6 separate regions of the Homo sapiens genome follow, and regions 2, 3, 4, 5 and 6 are each linked to region 1. The links are contacts of gene promoters, found by promoter capture Hi-C in blood cells and fetal thymus (Javierre and others, 2016). All regions are on one chromosome and are shown on one strand. The core of a region is centred on a gene start or on the middle of the fragment in contact, and the rest is flanking DNA. Distances in the headings are between cores, read along the strand shown.

Region 1 (3,195 bases), core at 406-2,905:
AGTTTGAGCCCAGCCTAAGCAACAAAGTGAGACCCCATCTCTTTTAATTTTTTTAAAGTTTTATATTTTTTAAAAAAATTATAAAAATAAAATTAGCAGCATCCCTGGTTTCAAAAAGTAGAAATAAATAAATAAATAAAAGTAGCTCACAATATTTCCTGAAAACAGGTGTATTAAAAGGGCAGAGGAGAGGGAAGGCAAAGAAAAAGAAAAAAAAGGTGGCAGGTTACATACATACAATCTTGTCTCTATAAAAGCTCAGAAAACATCACGTGACTAGGAAGTTTCAAATGCCTCCAATATAACATGGAGGAGAGGAAAAAAACTGTTCCTGGACAAAGATACACATTTCTTCCAAAAGGGGGAGTCTTTCTATATATTTTGTAATATCTCCAGAGCACAGCATAATGTTGGTACTGCCATTTTGGCCTTTGTCATTAGGAAGGTAACCCACATAAGCCTAACTACAAACACCCTTACCTGTACTAAAACTTCACTCATATTTAACTGAAGCAACATTGTTTTTTGTAAATATAACTGTAACAATTATTCTAAAAGGCAATACAGCTGTCCTCACCAGTTATGTTCTTGAGACATCAGTTGCAACAAACTTATATGTAAAAAGTATTCAAAAAGTTTAAACATTGATCTTAACTGGAGAGGGGTCTGCACTTGAACAAGTTTTCTTGCTACACACATTGCATTCTAAGATTTCGGACTCACTTTTGAATATGCAAAGACATTTCATGGTTAAGACCACAAAAAGGCTGATCAGAGAACATTTTTATTTAAATTGCCATTTTAAATATCAGTCGTTTTATCTTAAAGCTTGTCCTGGGTTTAACAAAGTTTAACTCACATCCACGCGTTGTCTCTCCAAACACAGCAGGCAGAAATTCTCCTTTGATTGGATTAAGATAGATAAAGTCTGCTTAACCGTGAATCGCTAATTGTCAAATCCATGCCAATTCGGTACCTAGGAGTCAATTTTTTTGCCTGATAAACAAGATAATTGTGTGGACCGTTTTAAGGTGGTTAGTCATCTGCTAAATTGGCTGAAATGCGGATTACCCAGTTCCTTCGTCGTACAGAGTTGCATTCTGAGGAGTGGGGCTCGGGGATACAGCCCCCAGAAATTCTGAACCTCGGTCCCGCAATCTACCACACCACCTAACCTTGGAAGGCCAAACTAACTTCACTATTTTTGACAAAATGCTTTGGTAATGGCTCATTCGGGCCGAGAGGGAAATTCTGCAATTCTCCAACCCACACCTCCAGCAAGGGGAGAGCTGCTTGAGTGGTGAGCACAAGCTGGGCACCTCCGGCGTCTCCAGGAAACGTGAATAGGCCCTTTCTTCGGAGGGCACAGAACTTCAGGATCAGGGCCCAATGGAGACTGAGCGGACTTAACCCTAACTGTGCACAGGACCGCGCTCTCCGACCCCTTTGTGGCCTCTCCCAGAGGTACGGGCTGCGCCCCAAGCCAGCAGTCTCTCGTAGGGCCTACAGCCGGCAGCCGCTGGAGCAGGAGGAGGAGAATAGGGACTCGCTGGACCATCACAAACGCTGTCGCGCGTGCGCAGGGAGGAACCGAGTTCGCGGCGAAGTCAGTTTCCTGACTCTTGAAGGAAGTGGCCTTGTGTCACTTCCGGCCTCCCTTTAGCTGCCATCTTGCGTCCCCGCGTGTGTGCGCCTAATCTCAGGTGGTCCACCCGAGACCCCTTGAGCACCAACCCTAGTCCCCCGCGCGGCCCCTTATTCGCTCCGACAAGGTACAAAAAGGCTCTGGACGGCGGCGTGGTAGGAGGACGGGAGCGGGGGCGGGAAGTTCCCTGAAGGAGCGAGACAGGGAGGGACAGGGCAGAGGAGGAGAGGAAGGCGATGCGACGGACAGGCGCACCCGCTCAGGCTGACTCTCGGGGGCGAGGTCGAGCCAGGGGCGGCTGCCCTGGGGGCGAGGCGACGCTGTCTCAACCTCCACCTCGCGGCGGAACCCGAGGACAGGAGCCTCAGGTACCGCGAGGCTTGCGGAGAGTGGCCGGGCCGGGCAGGCCCTGGCTAGGCCGAGGCCAGGCCAGGGCCAGGGGTGGGGGGTGCTGGCCAGGCGTGGGGTAGAGCCTTTCATCCGGGCCTGCCAAGAGCGGGGAGCTGTGGGGGAGTGGTGGGGAGGCGGGTGCTCTTTGGGCTCCCTGGAAACCCAAATTTGGAGCTTTGCGGGGTGGATTTGGGATCCAGGTTTCGGCCTGTGTAGGACGTTTATTTTCCTGCTGGTATCTTGGGAAATAACGAGCATGGAATGCTAGAGTGAGCTAAACCTATCCTTGCTGAGGATTTCCTCTTTTTCTAGATGAAAGAAACAATCATGAACCAGGAAAAACTCGCCAAACTGCAGGCACAAGTGCGCATTGGTGGGAAAGTAAGTTTTAATAGTTCGGGTTTGTGGGTTTTTTTTTTAAGGTTTAGGTATTTTAAAAAACATATTCCTTTTGCGCTTCTTATATTATCGGTGACAAACTTTGCCTATCGAGGGAAATTCACGGAGCTAGCAAATCTCGAGGAGCGGGGGAGACGAGGGTTGGAGACACATCAGTGAGACGAGCTAAAAACATCGCCTTTGTGTAAACATGTTTGTGTTTTCAGTGTTACAGAGTGTAAGTAGAACACAAAAGTGTTTCCTAATTTAATTAGTAAGGAAAATGTGTCATTTCAGTTAGATCGTTGTGCACATCATACCCTTGACTTGTTTTGGCCTGAGTTTTCTAAAGTCAGTGCTTGTTTGTCTCTCTTGTAAATTGAGACCTTTCTGTACTGCTTTCTGAACTAAATATTCTTTAGGGTAGTTGCATATTTCAAGGGTATTTGAAGATACGGGTACATTTTGGAGTTTAAGAGCAGTGACTATTAGATTTGAAAATATAACCCAAGTAGGTATCTTTCCTGTTCTGACTTTGTATTACTGTAAAAATGAGGGAATTAAAGTGACTGATTTTTAAATGATCAGTTTTTGATTAATTGTTTTTTTCCTGGTGGATACTGATTCACATCAAGGGGATTCTTTTTTGAAGCTGATTTTTAGATTGTCCTGTAATTAATAAGAAGTCCACTGTAGACAGAGGTCTACCTAGTTTGTATTGTTAGCACATTCTTAGTATTTAACAAGGTGTGGTAGCTTGTTGAAACAGAGCATGTCTTTAC
Region 2 (3,195 bases), core at 521-3,020, 680 kb before region 1:
CATTTATTAATGGTCTTTTTTCATACAGTTTGAGATCTTCCTAGTTCATGATATAATGAGTGATTTTCATAAAACCTGGACGTATGGGATATTTATGAGGTTTTGAATCTTATGAAAATCTCTTTTAGCTGGCTTTTTCTAACATGGTACTGGCAGGGGAAGTGGGTATGGGGAACAGGCACCACCTCATTGTTGCCAAGTTGGAGGAGACATCCAAGTTCCTCATTTGGCCTCCACTGACACCCAGGATGGGAGACTCCTTGTTACTGGCTTGTGATGATGAAAGTACTGGTTCTTTATTTGACCTTCTCTGACACCACCCTGGGAAGGAGGGCTTAGGGCACCTCTAAATAATTATTTAAATATTTTTCCATAATGCTAACCTGAAGATGTTTCAGTGTAAGGCAATTCTTTAAACTACCTAATAGTCTGGTGAGGGTGGGGATCTAGGCTATCCACTAGGACTTTGCTGACATGAGTAGGATGGGGTCACAATTCTGTCTGTAGTTTTGCCTAGAGTATGCAATTATTGTCAAAAAGTTTTCTGTCTGCCATACTCCTTTTCTGGCCCTTCAGCTGGAGCAGTGTTTTGATGGGGCCTTTTTAGTCTGTGCCATTGGTGTTTCTAGGTTGCTGATGTGTAAAGTTTCAAGTCTCTAAAGACTCTAAAGCAAAAAGAAAACACAGGCAATTAACCATCATGTTGTTCCTTGGGTTCCAAGGTCTCTAGTTGATCTGTCTTCTTTCCACCATTTGGAGACCTTTATGTTTGTTTTATACATAATGTTCAGAAGTTTTAATTATACTTAGTGGGAGGAATAGGGACAAGCATATCTATTCCAACTTCCCAAAAGTGGAAATCTAAGTAGACCTTTTTATAAGCAGAATCATATTATAATCACTAGGACATATTAATACTTAAAGGAGATTTGAAGTTAATTTTTCCCAGTTAATAACTCCCTAATTTATATTTTTAAGAATTCAAACTTTATATATTGGGTTTACTTTAAATGAGAAATGCCTGTAGATTATTTACACATTTCTGAATATTGACTACAATTGTCCTCTTCAATATTTTAATTAAATTCTTCCAAATAATTACTGAAACTTTTTTTCATAATGTCAACCTGAAGATGTTTCAGTGTAAGGCAATTCTTTAAACTACCTAATGTGAAATAATTGTCTTCCAGAAGTATAAATGGTGACAATATTTTAGAAGATCCTATTCTATTTTATTTGTTTATTTTTATTTTTTCATTTATTTTTGAGACGAAGTCTTCCTCTGTCACCCAGGCTGGAGTGCAAATGAATGGCCTGATCTTGGCTCACCGCAACCTCTGCCTCCCAGGTTCAAGCAATTCTCCTGCCTCAGCCTGCTGAGTAGCTAGAATTACAGGTGCCCGCCACCATGCCCAGCTAATTTTTGTATTTTTAGTAGAGACGAGGTTTCACCATGTTGGCCAGGCTGGCCTCAAACTCCTGACCTCAGGTAATCCGCCCATCTCGGCCTCCCAAAGTGCTGGGATTACAGGCGTGAGCCACTGCGCCCAGGCTTATTCTATTTTAGAAGCTTGCCTGTATATAAAAAATTACTTATCTTACTAGGTTTCCATATACTCACCAACAATTGCCTATTAAAGACATTTATTTAACAATTTTTGAATTTCCAGACTTACTTTTTCAATAATATTCCTCCTTCTCAAACATCTTTGATTTATATTAATGTCTAGTAATACTTTCATTCATTGCCCTCTAACAACCTGCCCTGCACTCTGCTAATGAGTTCTTTATGTAACTTATCTTACTTAATCTTGTTTCAGACAAAAGAAAGTGAAGCTCAGAAAGACTGAGCCAAAAGCATTCATAAATGGTAAAGCCAGCATCTGCATATAGGTCCTCTGCCTGCAAGCTCCACACTTGTTTTAACAATGCTACACCTGACAAAATAAGCATCTTGTCATTCCTAGGTGAAAGCTTATAGGTATGTTTTCTCCCTCAGATGCTATTTTGTAACTTCTAACATGTTTTTATTTTTATCTTGGTAAATTTTTCACCTAAGAAAATAAAATTAATACAGAAATTTTAAATATATCTATGTTTTAAAGGTAAAAACAAAGTTTATAAATTTTAACTTCATTTTTGTCATTTAAAAATTATTAATAATTCTTCAAAGTTTTACCACATGAGCATATTTAGGTATAAAGAGAAAATACTACTGGATAGCTGCTATTATATGTGCAAACTGTCAAAGAAAAATAAAATAAGCCATGTTAATAAATCCTTGTTAATAAGATTTACTGTTTAAAACATGTTTTTTTAATTTGACCTAGAAGAGACAAAAAGGCTACATGTGTAAGAATCTCTATTCAACAGAACTATTTTATATTAGTATTTTCATTCACTTTAATTTTTACAAAAGAATACATATTTAATTTGCTTAATCTCAATTTTACAACATCTGATAATCAACATTTTTTTCTTTCAAAATGTTTTGGCCAATAAATCCTCTTATGCTAAATAATATGTTACTTTTTCTTCAATTCATTTCAGCTATTTCCAAACTATTAATCAAGTGAACTCCTACTAATTGCTTAGTCAGTAGTATTTACATCTGTCATTATTTGCTAATCTTTTGGATTTTAGAAATATTTGTGTTTTTTCCTTTAGCAAAGTAGAATGCAAATACTACACATCTTCTGATTTGTATAGATCCTAGTCCACGATGTAACTTTTCAAATGCAGAAATAAGCCATTTGTTATTTGGATAAATATACTTTTTCTGGGTATATTTTCCTGCAGATAAACTACCATTCAGAAAAGTTTATATTACATTTTTTTCTTGGTAATCTACTCCTATTTGGGGGGGGGGGCTCTTTTTGATATACACTACTGTATCCAATTACTATCAAATTAATATTATAACATGTTGAAATCATGAATATTTTAGTTATCTATATTTTCCCTTGCTAAGTTCAATTTCCCAATGATTAAAAAATGGTACTTTTAGTCTCAAATTTTAAGTTAAATAAACTAGTTGTTCCTGCAAAATGACTGTAATTCAAATGAAAATTGTTAACACGTTTAGAAGAACAAATAAATTACCTTAGTAAAAATTTAGACATTTTCTAGTATTATGTACTGTAATTTTACCTAAACTATGACAGGAAGGCAACAACTGTCACACATTTTCAAAAT
Region 3 (3,195 bases), core at 448-2,947, 640 kb before region 1:
ACTCTAAAGTATTTTATAGTTTTGTTGTTGTTTTGTTTGTTTTGCTTCAGGAAAATTGATGAGTTATTTAAACACATTGGTGCTTTCCAACAAATCTGGGAAGGTTTTTTTTTTTTTTTTAATCACCCAAATTGCCTAATCTTAGTTTACATGAGAAAAAGATTTAAAACACTTCTAGGAACATATTTTTAAGTGAAATAATTTTTTGGAGTTTCTGAAAATCATCTCTAAGAATTGGCAACAGACTCTTCATCACTTACTAACCTTCACAGAAAATTCTTGGTATATGTATAGTAGTGCAAGTACTCTGACTCTACATTATCAGTTGATGTAGGACTCTGTTCCTCTAGACCAGAGTTTTCCAACCTCAGCACTTGACATTTTGGACTGGATAATTCTTTGTTGTTGGGCTATTTTGTCTGTGCACTACAGGATGTTAATCAGCACACCTGACCTCTACCCACTGGATACCAGCAGCAGCCACATACCCTGCTGTAGCAACCAAAAATGTCTCTAGACCATGCCACGTGTTGGGGTCAGGGAGTGCCTGACTGAGCTCCTTGAGGGAAAGGACCATGTGTTATTTTTGTATTTCTTAGCATCTACTAATAATATATACAATATTTAAATATTTTAATTAAAAGATTACTGATTATAAAAATAGACTAGCAGCTTTGGCTTTTAAAATTTTTATTAACCTTAACAATACATGTTGGGAATCTTATCAAGGAAGTCTATTTGGAAGGGACCACATCTGAATGACTGTGGGGTAATTCATCAGATGAAGTAAAGATGTTTCTCTTGTTTAGAGAGTATACAGTTTGTTTGTAATTTTATTATTTCAATGAATATTCTCTTGTGTATGTTTGTACAATTACAGGAAGATTTCTATAGGATTAATTTGTGTATTTGGCATTATTGGGTCAAAGTGTGTTTAAACATTTTTAAGATTTTAATAGGTGTTGCCAAGCACACTGATTTCATTCCCGTATTTGTTATAAATACTGAGAAATATTAAGTTATGCTTGGTTTCTTTTAGACAGATCCAGATCTTGCTCATTCCCTTATTTCTTTTATATTTTAACTTTAGGAAAGACTAATTTGCAGGAACGATCAGATCTTGCTGCTTTTGGATCTTAATGGAAGGCTATTTTATTGTAAGGGCTATATCTTGAAAATGCTATCAGTACATTAATTCTTACTATACAATTTAATTTTTTTGTGTGTGGAGAATAAATTTGCCGGGAGCTTTACTTTCTAGATTCTTTTTTAGTTCTTTATCATTGAGAGCAACCTTCTCAGAACTAAAGGTAGAAAATTTATACACATGGTGATATTTGCTGTTCAGTGATAGTCATTGAGTGTTTACTAGATGCCAGGCATTTTCTATATATCCAATTGAATTTTCAAAATAACCCTATGAAGAGTTTTCTTTTTTCATTTTTGTACACTCATATTTTGCAGCTTAGAATGCATATAATTTGCCTATTGTCAGAGCTTATACTCTTCTGGCACTAAAAGATCCATAATCACTAAGCATATTATATCACTAATATGTTTACTAAGGCAGAAAAAAATATTAACACGAAACCTTTCTGTTGTCCTTGTGTTTGTGTTAACACAAAACTTTCCTTACATTTGTGTGTATTTGCATAATTCATTGACTATCACAACTCTACTGCATAACACAGTTGAGATAATCCATTCAGTCAGAACAACATGATCAGTGAGCATGGGCCACCCAGCCTCGAAGATCGCCTTTCTGGCGACTCATTCTTGATCCAGTAAGTGGGAACTGTTGTAGGAGTATGTAGCCTGCCTACATGAGGGAGAGTGTTGTAAGCAGTGAAACATACAGGATTATTCTCAAGTGATACTCATCTGCTTAAGTTTTTCCTACCATGGTCCTTGGCTCTGGTTCCAGATTAAGTCAGGGAGCTATTTTTAGCTTCTTAATGTGTCTTTTATTTGAACCTAACAGACTCATAAGTTTATCACCCAGTGTTAAGTGCTGCTAACGTTTTGGCATATTTTCTTTCTACTCTTTTGTATGGATAAATTAGAATTTTTTTTTTTTTTTGAGACAGAATTTCGTTCTTGTTGCCCAGACTGGAGTGCAGTGGCGTGATCTCGGCTCACTGCAACCTCCGCCTCCCGGGTTCAAGCGATTCTCCTGCCTCAGCCTCCTGAGTAGCTGAGATTACAGGCATGCACCACATGCCCGGCTAGTTATGTATTTTTAGTAGAGATGGGGTTTCTCCATGTTGGTCAGGCTGGTCTTGAACTCCCAACCTCATGTGATCCACCCACCTCGGCCTCCCAAAGTGCTGGGATTACAGGTGTGAGCCACCGTGCCCAGCCATTAGAATTAATTTTAATTGGTGGAGCTATTCTTGGTATTATGGCAGAAAAAGAAGTTGCATTCTTATACTTGGTAAATTTAACTCAAAAAACCTTAGAGGGTGAAATGTTGAAAAACACTATTAGAAACAGATCTGGTTTATGTGAGGTTTTTTTTCCACAAGGTACGGAATGGTGATATGGGTGTTGGTGGTGAGTGTTACTAATTTTTTGAGACAGGGTCTCACTCTGCCCAGGCATGAGTGTGGTCTCATAGTCATGGCTCACTGCAGCCTCGACCTCCTTGACTCAGGTGATCCTCTCACTTCAGCCTCCTGAATAGCTGGGATCACAGGCGCATACCATCACGCCCAGCTGATTTTCTTGTATTTTTAGTAGTGAGAGGGTTTCATCATGTTGCCCAGGCTGGTCTGGAATTCCTGGGCTCAAGAGATCTGCCCGCCTCGGCCTCCCAGAATGCTGGGATTACAGCATGAGCCACCATGCCTGGCCAAATGTTATTATTTACATAAAATGTGTTTGTGCACACAGTTGCTCACATGGCAATGCCTGACATAATGCTGTTGGATTTCCTAAAGAAGTGTGTTTTTGTTCAAGGTATTTTGATCACAACTATAGCCTCCAAGGGAGAATTGCAGAATTGGCCTGACCTCTTACCAAAACTCTGTAGCCTGTTGGATTCTGAAGATTATAATACCTGTGAGGTAAGGATATTTGTTTCATACATAATTGGGTGTTTTCTGTTTTTCTTGTCATGTTGTGTATTAGCAGCTTTTGGGAAAAATAGTTCCTCTGAAACATACAGCTTCTCAAAACTTAGAAACCTAAAGTTAC
Region 4 (3,195 bases), core at 224-2,723, 600 kb before region 1:
TTCCTCTGAGTAAACCTGACCTGATTGGCTGGCAAACTAACAACAATGAATGGCTTCCAAAAGAGAGGGTTGGGGTGGGGGGAGGGGAACCTGCTACTGTAGAAACTAGTAGAGCAAGCTCATAAATGATCAGGATCCTGTTGAGCGCAGTTTCAAGCATTCATCATAATCTTCAGTATACCCAGAAAGTTTAGCATGTGTACTTTATTCTTCCTAGTGCCTATCTTCAGTTGCCACAGCACTGCAGTCTGGATTCCTTCCGTACTGTGAACCTGTGTATCAGCGTTGTGTAAACCTAGTACAGAAGACTCTTGCACAAGCCATGGTAATTTTTTTAAAATGTCTTCCTCTTCTTGACATGGTGGACATTTTTCTAAAGATAGGTATAATGTATACAGACTTTTTAAGTAGTTAATTAAAACCAAACTTACAAAAAACATTGTGTCTAATTTCAGCTAAACAATGCTCAACCAGATCAATATGAAGCTCCAGATAAAGATTTTATGATAGTGGCTCTTGATTTACTGAGTGGCCTGGCTGAAGGACTTGGAGGCAACATTGAACAGCTGGTAGCCCGAAGTAACATCCTGACACTAATGTATCAGTGCATGCAGGTGAGACTTGAAAGGTGAAAATGAATTGAAGCCTGTTTCTCTGTGTCACATTGGGGTTAATTTCTTCTTATTTCTTGTAGGATAAAATGCCAGAAGTTCGACAGAGTTCTTTTGCCCTGTTAGGTGACCTCACAAAAGCTTGCTTTCAGCATGTTAAGCCTTGTATAGGTATGAATATTTTCTACTGCTATGAATATGGTTTTTTAAAGTTAACATTTACATCAGCTTTGTTTTTTTATTATTAAACTGAAATTGCATGGAATCCCAACATTTATAAATGTACACTTTATTGGTTAAAGTAAACTTGCTGTGATTGAAACAGGCAAGATGGCAGGAACCCCTAATATTTCCTTGAGCTTGCCATCATCTCAGCTTTTTAGGTACTCCTGTGACTGGAGGAAAGCTTAGTAATATACTTTAGAGTAAAGGACATGCCCACCAGGGAAGCCTTGGTACCATGGACTAGTTAATAGATTCTTTTTTGAGTAGCCACCTTTTTGGTAGAGGTACACAGAAATAGTAATAATCAGGTTTTCTTCTCTAGCAAACCAGCATACTTTTTCAGATATTGCAGAAAACTTCCAACAAATGTCACTTTAACTGAGACTGGGCCTGGGGGCTCACACCTGTAATGCCAGCACTTTGGGAAGCCAAGGCAGGCAGATCACTTGAGGTCAGGAGTGCGAGATTCGAGACTAGCATAGCATTTGTCTTGGCCTTCTGTGACAATGATAAGAAATTCCTTGAATGTTGTACCCGGAATTGTTCTTAAACCTATGGGTTATAAATGAGTTATGGGATTTTTTTCCCCCTTTTCTGCATCTCAGCATGTTGGGTAACAATTATTTTAATACAGCCGGGCACGGCGGCTCAGACCTGTAATGCCAGCACTTTGGAAGGCCAAGGCGGGCAGGTCACGAAGTCAGGAGATCAAGACCATCCTGGCTAACACGGTGAAACCCCGCTTCTACTAAAAATACAAAAACTTAGCCAGGCGTGGTGGCTTGTGCCTGTAGTTCTAGCTACTTGGGAAACTGAGGCAGGAAAATCGCTTGAACCCGGGAGGCAGAGTCTGCAGTGAGCTGATACTGTACCACTACACTCCAGCCTGGGCAACAGAGCAAGACTCCGTCTCAAAAAAAATTATTTTAATACTTCATTTAAACCTTAATTTAAAATATTAATTGAATGTTTTGTCATCTGATATAATTGTGCTTTTGGATAACCATTTCTCAAAAAACTAACATAATTAACATTAATTATGATATATTAAGAACCATCAAGTTTAAACCTAACAGTGTAATGAATTCTTATGGGAAGCTTATCATTCTCATATTTACCACCTAATTTAGTTTTTTAGTTGAAACTTATATGAAAGGATTTAATTTTTTTATTATAAAGTGTTTAAGACGTACAAAAGTAGAAAAAATGTAACAAACCTCCTATCACCCAGCTTCAACTGTCCAGTCCTGTTTCCTATATACTGTTGTCAGTGGTGAGACACATAGATCTCAGATATTTTGGAGCAAATCTCAAACACAGCATTTGAAGTCTTAATATTTTAGTACATACTATACTATCTCTTCTTACAATTGTTTTTTGTTAAAGAAACCATGTTTTTTATTCTAAAGAGTTTCCTTTACTGTGGATTTTACTGATTGCATCTTTGTTGTCTTTAACATGTTCCTCTGTCCGTTGTATTTACTGTAAATTGTTTGGATACAGAGACTGAGGTTTAATGAGATTTACGTTGTTTTGTTTTTAAGACTTTATAGATGGTATTGTGTACTTAGTGTACATAGTGTCTAGTTGTCCCTCCTTTTTTTTTTTTTAATGTTACCAATCTTGATGATTGTCTCAATTAGTGGTTCTCAACTAGGGGCAATTTTGCCATTCGGGGAACATTTGCCAGTGTCTGGAGACATTTTGTTTGATGCTGGAGAGGTGCCATTGATGTCTAGTGGGTAGAAGCAAAGGATGTTGCTAAACATCTTATAATACAGGAGACAGCTCCCCTTCCCCCCAACAAAAAAATGATCTGGCCCAAACTGTCAATATTGCTGAGATCAAGAAACCCTGGCTTACATCTCCTGATTTATTAGGAGTTTAAAAAATTATGATATTCTAATTCTTCATTTAATAATGAAGATACTTATATAGGGAGACATTTCCCATATCAATAAATTACTATCCTGAGGTAAAATCATATAGCAGAGGCAAGATAAATACTTGATTCTTTTTTTTATTTACCAATTTTCAAAATAATGAATTGATTCCTATCATCCTCCAAAGGTATCTTTGATGTTTCAGAGTTTTGTTTTTGTTTGATTGTTTTTAGTGCTAGTGTGACTTCATGATGTTCAAGCTGTTGTACTGCTTGCAGTGAGAACTTAAGTTGGCTCCCGAGTCCTTTCATTATGACAAGATAGTCCACTTATTTTGCACATTTCCTGCCTTTGCCTGTAATGTGACGTTTTCTGAGAGTCCATTTTTTTTTAGTGGAAAATGTTATTCAGAGACCACAATCAGAGCACAAGAGTGAAAATTGCTTTAAAAGCCAAAATCATTGATTTTTTTTTTT
Region 5 (3,195 bases), core at 294-2,793, 580 kb before region 1:
AGCCTATAAGGCAGTGTTGGTCCCCTTCTAATATTGGCCTCATAAAGGGGTTCCACTGTACTTTCCGCATATTACTGTGTTGTTGTTTTCCTTTGTGGATATATAAGCAAATTGAGCTTGGGTGATTTTTATGGAGACAATAATTAGACAATACTGTATAATTAGTTTTACTTAATAGATTATCATCTTGTGAGAAGAGATGTTTAAACGTGGTAAATCACTTCATATTACAAAACAGTTTTACACTTAATATGTTAACATTGGGTGCAATAATTTAGTAGCATTAGCTTTAGTTACAAATATAACTGGATCTTTCTGCTGACAACTTAGGTTGTATGAGTTATGCTTAAAAGCTTTAAATCTGATGTTTCCTGTACCTGCCACACTATGTTAGAATGTGTCCTTCAAACATATCCTCCTGCAACTTCTCAAACTGTACTAAATTGATATTTCTTGAAGTCTAACTCTGTGCTAACAGATCTCCATTTTAAATAGAATACGGTTTTAATTTTTGATAAGCTGCTGAATTTTAAAGAGAGTTTTTTGGGGCCACCAAATATTTTGGATCATGCAGAGAATATATATTGTACTGTAGTAATTTTGTATTTACATTTGTATGATGTGACATAATAGATGTGAATGTTAATCACTGCTTGACTATGTTAATAAAGTTGTTTAACTATAGATGTTGCACTCTGATTTTTAATGAAAGGAAATGAGTTTTCTTTTTCCCTCTTACCCCATTTTGGATCTAGATAAGCCTTATGTTTTTTGGGATTTTTTTCCTTGTTTTTAGTTTGAGGTTTTGTTTTGTTTTTTCCTTAGCTTACACATTAGTACACTTTTGTTGTTGAACATCATTTATTTCTTAAAACAAGTGTTTTCTTATTTGTATAGTATAGTAAAAACCTGTTTTTCCACATTTTAACTTAACTCCTTGATGTGTTTTAAACAGTTGATTATAGGTTCTGCTGTTTGAGGATAGGGGACATACTATTCTGTAAAAGGAATTAAAGGCGAAATTGTGAATATAAAAAGTTGATGTAAGGAGAGATTGCATGAGTGTGTATGAATGTATGTCCTATTAAGGCTTCCTCTTTATCCTTCAAACAGTTAAGATTTGTAATTTGGGGAATTAACATTTATAAGAGTAATTTTTTCTTCAGGTTGTAAGGCATTAATATAGTTGCATGTTACTAATTAAATGTATTAACACATTTCAGGGAGTATGTGTGCATAACTGTCATGGTTTTTTTTGTTTTTTGTCTTGTTTTTGAGATGGAGTCTTGCTCTGTTGCCCAGGCTGGAGTGCAGTGGCACAGTCTTGTCTCACTGCAACCTCTGCCTCCCGGGTTCAAACGACTCTCCTGCCTCAGCTTCCCAAGTAGTTGGGATTAAGGCATGTGCCGTCACACCCGGCTAACTTTTATATTTTCAGTAAAGATGGGGGTTCACCATGTTGGCCAGGCTAGTCTCGAACTCCTGGCCTCAGGTGATCCACCTGTCTCGGCCTCTCAAAGTGTTGGGATTACAGCTGTGAGCCACCATGCCTGGCCTTGTCATACAGCCTTTTGAGATTTAGAACAGGAAAGAGCCTAAAATTAAATCAGTACAATTCCAAAACTTTTAAGAGAGGTGAGGCTTGGGTTTCTTTTTCTTTGTTACCTGGCCAAGAAAATATTTGAGAAGAGAGAGTTCTCTTGTGTTAACAAGAAAATAAAATTGAAACTTGGACATCATGTTCTAAAACACAGCCTCAAGAGTTTAATATTCCAGAATTTTAGGACTTAGGTTGTGGGGAAAAGATAATTAAAGTCATCCTAATTCTTGTTCAAGATTAGGAACCAAAAGTCTTTTCTAAGTCGTCAATATTTTAGTGATACTAAAGCCCTATCCATTTTATGCAAATGATCTTTTTCTTCTCAGTTCAGGTGATGAAACCATCGTAATGATAAATGAGTAAGGCTGGCTTAACAATTCTTGGACTGGCGGGCATTCTTGTAATGAGTTCATAATCAGTATGACTCCACAATTTCACGTGATTCTTTAAGAATGATTGGAAAAGTGGCAGCAGGAACTACAGAGCTAACTTGAATTTCCTTTGTGTTCTATACAGTTGAATATGGAATTACCAAAGCTCTGTCATTTTAAAAATTCTTTATTTCTGAGTTGTTAATTTGATGTAAAAGTGTAAGAACCCCCGAAACATCTCCATTATTCAGATAGACACAAATAATGTACACATCACAATTAGTATATATTTTTTTTAATTGAGAGGACTCTGGCTCTGTCTCCCAGTCTTCAGTGGCACGATATCTGCTCCCTGCAACTTCCGCCTCCTAGGTTCAAGCAATTCTCCCATCTCAGCCTCCCAAGTAGCTGGGATTACAGGCGCACGCCACCAGGCCTGGCTAATTTTTTTTTTTTTTTTTTTTTTTTTTTTTTTTTAGGAGAGAGTTTGGCCGTGTTGGCCAGGCTGGTCTCGAACTCCTGACCTCGAGTGAACACCTCGAGTGGTACGCCCACCTTTGCCTCCCAAATTGCTGGGATTACAGTTGTGAGCCACCGCCCCTGGCGACAATTTGTAAATTTAACGCAATTTCTAAACCATTGGCAAGAACAATACAGAGAAGAGTTGTTATACTGAGACCCTTTAGGTTTTTGTACCAGTCAATTCTTACATGCATGTTATGGCAGTCTCACTCTGATGATTTAAATCTTAAGTATTCTTTTCAAGCTTTGTGTTACTTCTTGAAGAACTTGAAACAATTTTAAGAAAGACAAGTGAACAGTTAAATGAATTGTAATACAACTACCTAGTGATAACTGCTGTTAATATCCTGTGCACATATATAAATATATGGTGAATTTGTGTTTTTAGTTATATCCAGAATTGTTTGTTAATATACATGGACATACCTACATATTATTCTATAAGCAATTTATGCAACTGTCTTACTGTTGTTGGACATTCAGAAGTTTTTTCTAATTTTTCACTCTTAGAAATAAAGTTTTAGTGAGAGTCGCAATGCTTAAATGTTTGCAAACATCTGTAGCGATTTCTTAGTGAAACTAGCAGGTCAAAGGTAGTTGGTCTAGTCAGATTACCTTTCAGTTAAATTGTACTCATTTTCATATCCAGCACCAACTCCAGTGGATTCTGTCATGTGTGCTGTAAGTTGTGATTTAATAGCA
Region 6 (3,195 bases), core at 303-2,802, 540 kb before region 1:
AATGTGTGTGTGTGATATGTAAGTTCCTTTAAAGCATGGAGTCCAGGATAGAAGTCTCTCTTGCCCAGGTCTAAGGGTGCGGGGGGAAGGGGGGGGGCGCGGCGGTGGGAGGGAGTACTTTAGTGATACTAGGAATTTAATGCCAAATGTATTTGCTGTGTGACCTAGATGGCTGAATTTTTTAAAAAGTTCTTCAGCATCGAGAAAAATCCAGTTAGACCGATAGCTTAGAGAGCTGTAGCTTATTTCTAAATTTGACTTTCCCTAAAACTAAGTGTAAATGTCAGTGATATGAGGACTTTTTAAAGAAACAAAATAAAGAAACAAGATACACAAAAATAGAGCAACTATGGCCAATCTTGTTTCATCCCTTTTCATCTATGACCTTACTCATACCCCTATCCATAATAAATGACTTTCAGCAAATCCTAGATGTTCTGCATCCTATATCTTTCTAACAGATATTCTTAAAAAGTATGACCACAATACCATTATCCAATTATTCCTTGTTCAACAAGCACTTACAATTTCATCCATGTGAAAGGCACCTCATGATTTTTACTTGAGGATGAAGATAATTTCTCATGAATTCTCATTGTTTTAAGTCACCTGAAGAGGTGTGATATGCTACAATAAATCTATTTGTAGGGCTTGGCTTCAAGAACTGAAGATTCTGGACCTAGCTGATCTGGTGACAGTGAACTTGAGACCTCTAATAGCGTTTAACTATTTTTTTTTAACTTTTGGAAAGCAAGGTGTAGGAAGGGGATTTAGTTTTTCCATTAGGTCGTGGCATGTTAAGACTTGTTTCTTTTTCCAAAATGTTCAAGTTGCTGAAGAGAACTATGGACTATGGGTCAGGAAGTCCGTCGGTTTCGGGTCACATTCCGCTCCCGCAGGCCTGCGGGCCGCCCCAGCTGGTTTGTTCCCGGCGTGTTAGAGGTCAGAGGCCGAGGCCGCACTCAGTGCCTGGGTCTCGCGCAGCTCCAGGGCTCTCAGGCGACACTGGGCGTTTCCTTTCCGGCTTCGGAAAGTTTTGTTTTGGTTCAAGGAAAGGCGCCCTGTTGACCAAAGGCTTCTCAGTCTCCTCCGGGTGGCCAGCGGCCAAGTTTCCTCCAGCCCAGCGAGTCCAGACTATAGTCCGTTCGAGATCCTCGAAGGCCGGGGAAGCGAGTCTTGTGAGGAGAGAAAGCGAGTGGGCAGCCAGCCTGCCGACTCCACTGCCGCTGGCTGGCCCTTCTCTTCCCTCTGTCCCTGGGCCAGTGCCCGTCGCACCACAAACAGTGCGAGCAGTCTCCCCGGTGACTCCTCAAGGACCCAGTTCTCCACCATTCCTAAGAGAACACTCAACCCAGCCGCGCCCGGGATGCAGAGAGATCTACCAACACCCGAGAATGGGGACAGGGCGCATGCGCACACCGTGGCCGTGGCGTCTAAGTGCTCGCCCAGCTGCGGCAGCCGCTAGGTGGCGCATGCGCCCTGGAAGGTGCGGGCCGGTCTCTGGGAAGAAGGCGGCGGCGGCGAAAGGCGGGGGTGCTGTGGGGGCCGGGCCGTGTTTACACAGCGGCGGGCGGGCGCGGACGCGGAACCCGGCGCGGCGGCGGCACGATGGTCATGGCGTATTTCGTCGAGAATTTTTGGGTAAGCTTAGGATGTTGGAAGTCGTGTGTTTCGAAGTCCAAGGCTTTTGGCGCCTGAGCTTGGCCTGCGTGCGCTTCGGGCGGCGGCGGCGGCCCCTCCGGCAGGGCGAGCGTCCTCCTGCCGCGTCCCGCCTGGGTGAGGTCCGGCGGGCGACCGGTCGCCAGCCTATAGGGACTCCCGGGCTCGCAGCCCTATGGGGACGGGGGCTGTCACCGCGGCCCGGGGGCCCGCAGCGGGGCCGCCGGCCACCGGGGCTGGGACAAAGCGCCGGATGGGGCGGGAGACGGGACCCAGCCCCACCGGAGGCTCCCGGTGCCGCGCTCCGCGCGGGGCGTGCGCGGCAGCTCGGACGCGAAGGACGGGCCCGCGGCACAGCCGCCTCCCGCTGCGCGCTGGCTGGGAGCGCCGGGCGGTGGGGTTTTGCCTCCTGCCCTCACCGCGGGCCCCCCATCTGAGCGATCCCTTTTACCTCTGACGGTTTCCACACCAAATCCAGTGCGGGGTTGGGCTGGACTAGCACTTCCTCTCAGCCTCGCAGCTCGGCTCGTGGGTTTGCGCCCAGGACTTTGCCTCTGGGCCTGTTCACAAAGCGTTTAAAAGTTGGATTTAATGTAACTGGACTCCTTGGGCTTAAATGCATGGAGACCTCCCCCTACTCTGTGCTCCTTCCCCTTCCTCATTCTTTCCACCCCTTGTCTTAGCTCAGTATTAGATTCTTCTTTGAGAATTTCTCCGGCTCCCGGTGGAGTATTTTTCTGCAGTTATTGTTTTTTTTTTTGTAATGGGAAGTACAGTTCAGCCATGTACAGGAAAGGAACGTGTTTACTCAGGTATCTTTCGTGAATCCCATTTTATGCCCTGACAGTTGCAAGTACTGCAGGTCCATTTTCGTTGAGATTTAGACATATTTAAAGGGGTAATCTTTTAGCTAGTAAGGAATGTATGTTAAATTCTTAATTCTAAGTGCCTCAAGCATGGTCTTGGTTAGTAATCAGATCAGTTCATAGTTATTTATTTGTCTTGAATGTACCTTGTTTTCCACAAAGAACGTATATACTAGACCTTAGGTGTTTTGTTTTTTAAACAGCTTTATTGAGTTCACATTTCCGTACCAATACACTCATTTAAAGTGTAGTACAATTCAGAGGTTTTTTCATATGTTCATAGAGTTGTGTAAACATCACCATATCAGTTTTACAACAATTTCGTTATCCCAGAAAGAATCCCTAGACCCATTAGCAGTCACTCCCCATTTTCCCCCTGCCCCAGGCCTAGGCAACTAATGTATTTTCTGCCTCTCTGCATTTGTCTAGTCTGGACATATCCTATAAATGGGGCCATGGTGACCAGTTTCTTTCACTTAGCATAATGTTCTCAAAGTTTATCCATGATGTAGCATGTATCACTACTAATTCCTTTTTATGGTCAAATAATATTCCATTCCACATTTTATTAATATTTATCCAATCAGTGATGGACATCTGGTTGTTCCCACTTTTGGGTTATGAATAATGCTGCATGAACATTTTTGTACAAGTTTTTGTGTGAACATAT

What was found. The method cuts DNA at HindIII sites, captures the fragments that hold promoters and counts their contacts. A CHiCAGO score of 5 or more calls a contact.
Region 2: a fragment that was not itself captured here is called in contact with the fragment with the promoter of BTF3 in region 1 in 9 of 17 cell types (total B cells, total CD8 T cells, activated CD4 T cells and 6 more); the score reaches 9.7 in total B cells.
Region 3: a fragment that was not itself captured here is called in contact with the fragment with the promoter of BTF3 in region 1 in 2 of 17 cell types (activated CD4 T cells and naive CD4 T cells); the score reaches 7.9 in activated CD4 T cells.
Region 4: a contact is called between a fragment that was not itself captured here and the fragment with the promoter of BTF3 in region 1, in 5 of 17 cell types (activated CD4 T cells, total CD8 T cells, total CD4 T cells and 2 more). The highest score is 8.0, in activated CD4 T cells.
Region 5: a contact is called between a fragment that was not itself captured here and the fragment with the promoter of BTF3 in region 1, in 1 of 17 cell types (erythroblasts). The highest score is 5.8, in erythroblasts.
Region 6: a contact is called between the fragment with the promoter of FCHO2 here and the fragment with the promoter of BTF3 in region 1, in 12 of 17 cell types (total B cells, total CD8 T cells, erythroblasts and 9 more). The highest score is 12.3, in total B cells.

The regions. Positions count from the first base shown.
Region 1 is chr5:73,496,787-73,499,981 of GRCh38, forward strand. BTF3 (basic transcription factor 3) reads left to right here and starts at 1,656. Exons shown (of 6, transcript NM_001037637.2): 1 at 1,656-2,013; 2 at 2,348-2,416. The coding sequence starts at 1,882. BTF3-DT (BTF3 divergent transcript) reads right to left here and starts at 1,534. Exons shown (of 1, transcript NR_186388.1): 1 at 767-1,534. RefSeq lists enhancers at 1,491-1,550, 1,581-1,880, 1,644-2,454 and a silencer at 2,091-2,140. The HindIII fragment of the contact is 2,385 bases long and covers 827-3,195 here.
Region 2 is chr5:72,812,476-72,815,670 of GRCh38, forward strand. The region is part of intron 1 of TNPO1-DT (TNPO1 divergent transcript); the gene reads right to left. Among named protein-coding and RNA genes, the nearest start is that of TNPO1-DT, 2.5 kb to the right of the region's middle. The HindIII fragment of the contact is 404 bases long and covers 1,569-1,972 here.
Region 3 is chr5:72,858,850-72,862,044 of GRCh38, forward strand. TNPO1 (transportin 1) reads left to right here. Exons shown (of 25, transcript NM_002270.4): 5 at 2,959-3,065. Among named protein-coding and RNA genes, the nearest start is that of MIR4804, 18 kb to the right of the region's middle. The HindIII fragment of the contact is 7,166 bases long and covers 1-3,195 here.
Region 4 is chr5:72,892,922-72,896,116 of GRCh38, forward strand. TNPO1 (transportin 1) reads left to right here. Exons shown (of 25, transcript NM_002270.4): 16 at 218-325; 17 at 456-614; 18 at 695-782. Among named protein-coding and RNA genes, the nearest start is that of MIR4804, 16 kb to the left of the region's middle. The HindIII fragment of the contact is 917 bases long and covers 1,016-1,932 here.
Region 5 is chr5:72,913,705-72,916,899 of GRCh38, forward strand. TNPO1 (transportin 1) reads left to right here. Exons shown (of 25, transcript NM_002270.4): 25 at 1-684. Among named protein-coding and RNA genes, the nearest start is that of MIR4804, 37 kb to the left of the region's middle. The HindIII fragment of the contact is 2,384 bases long and covers 352-2,735 here.
Region 6 is chr5:72,954,489-72,957,683 of GRCh38, forward strand. It overlaps FCHO2 (FCH and mu domain containing endocytic adaptor 2), which reads left to right and starts at 1,553. Exons shown (of 26, transcript NM_138782.3): 1 at 1,553-1,641. The coding sequence starts at 1,609. It overlaps FCHO2-DT (FCHO2 divergent transcript), which reads right to left and starts at 1,396. Exons shown (of 2, transcript NR_186392.1): 1 at 526-1,396. RefSeq lists a silencer at 1,446-2,145. The HindIII fragment of the contact is 4,273 bases long and covers 1-1,644 here.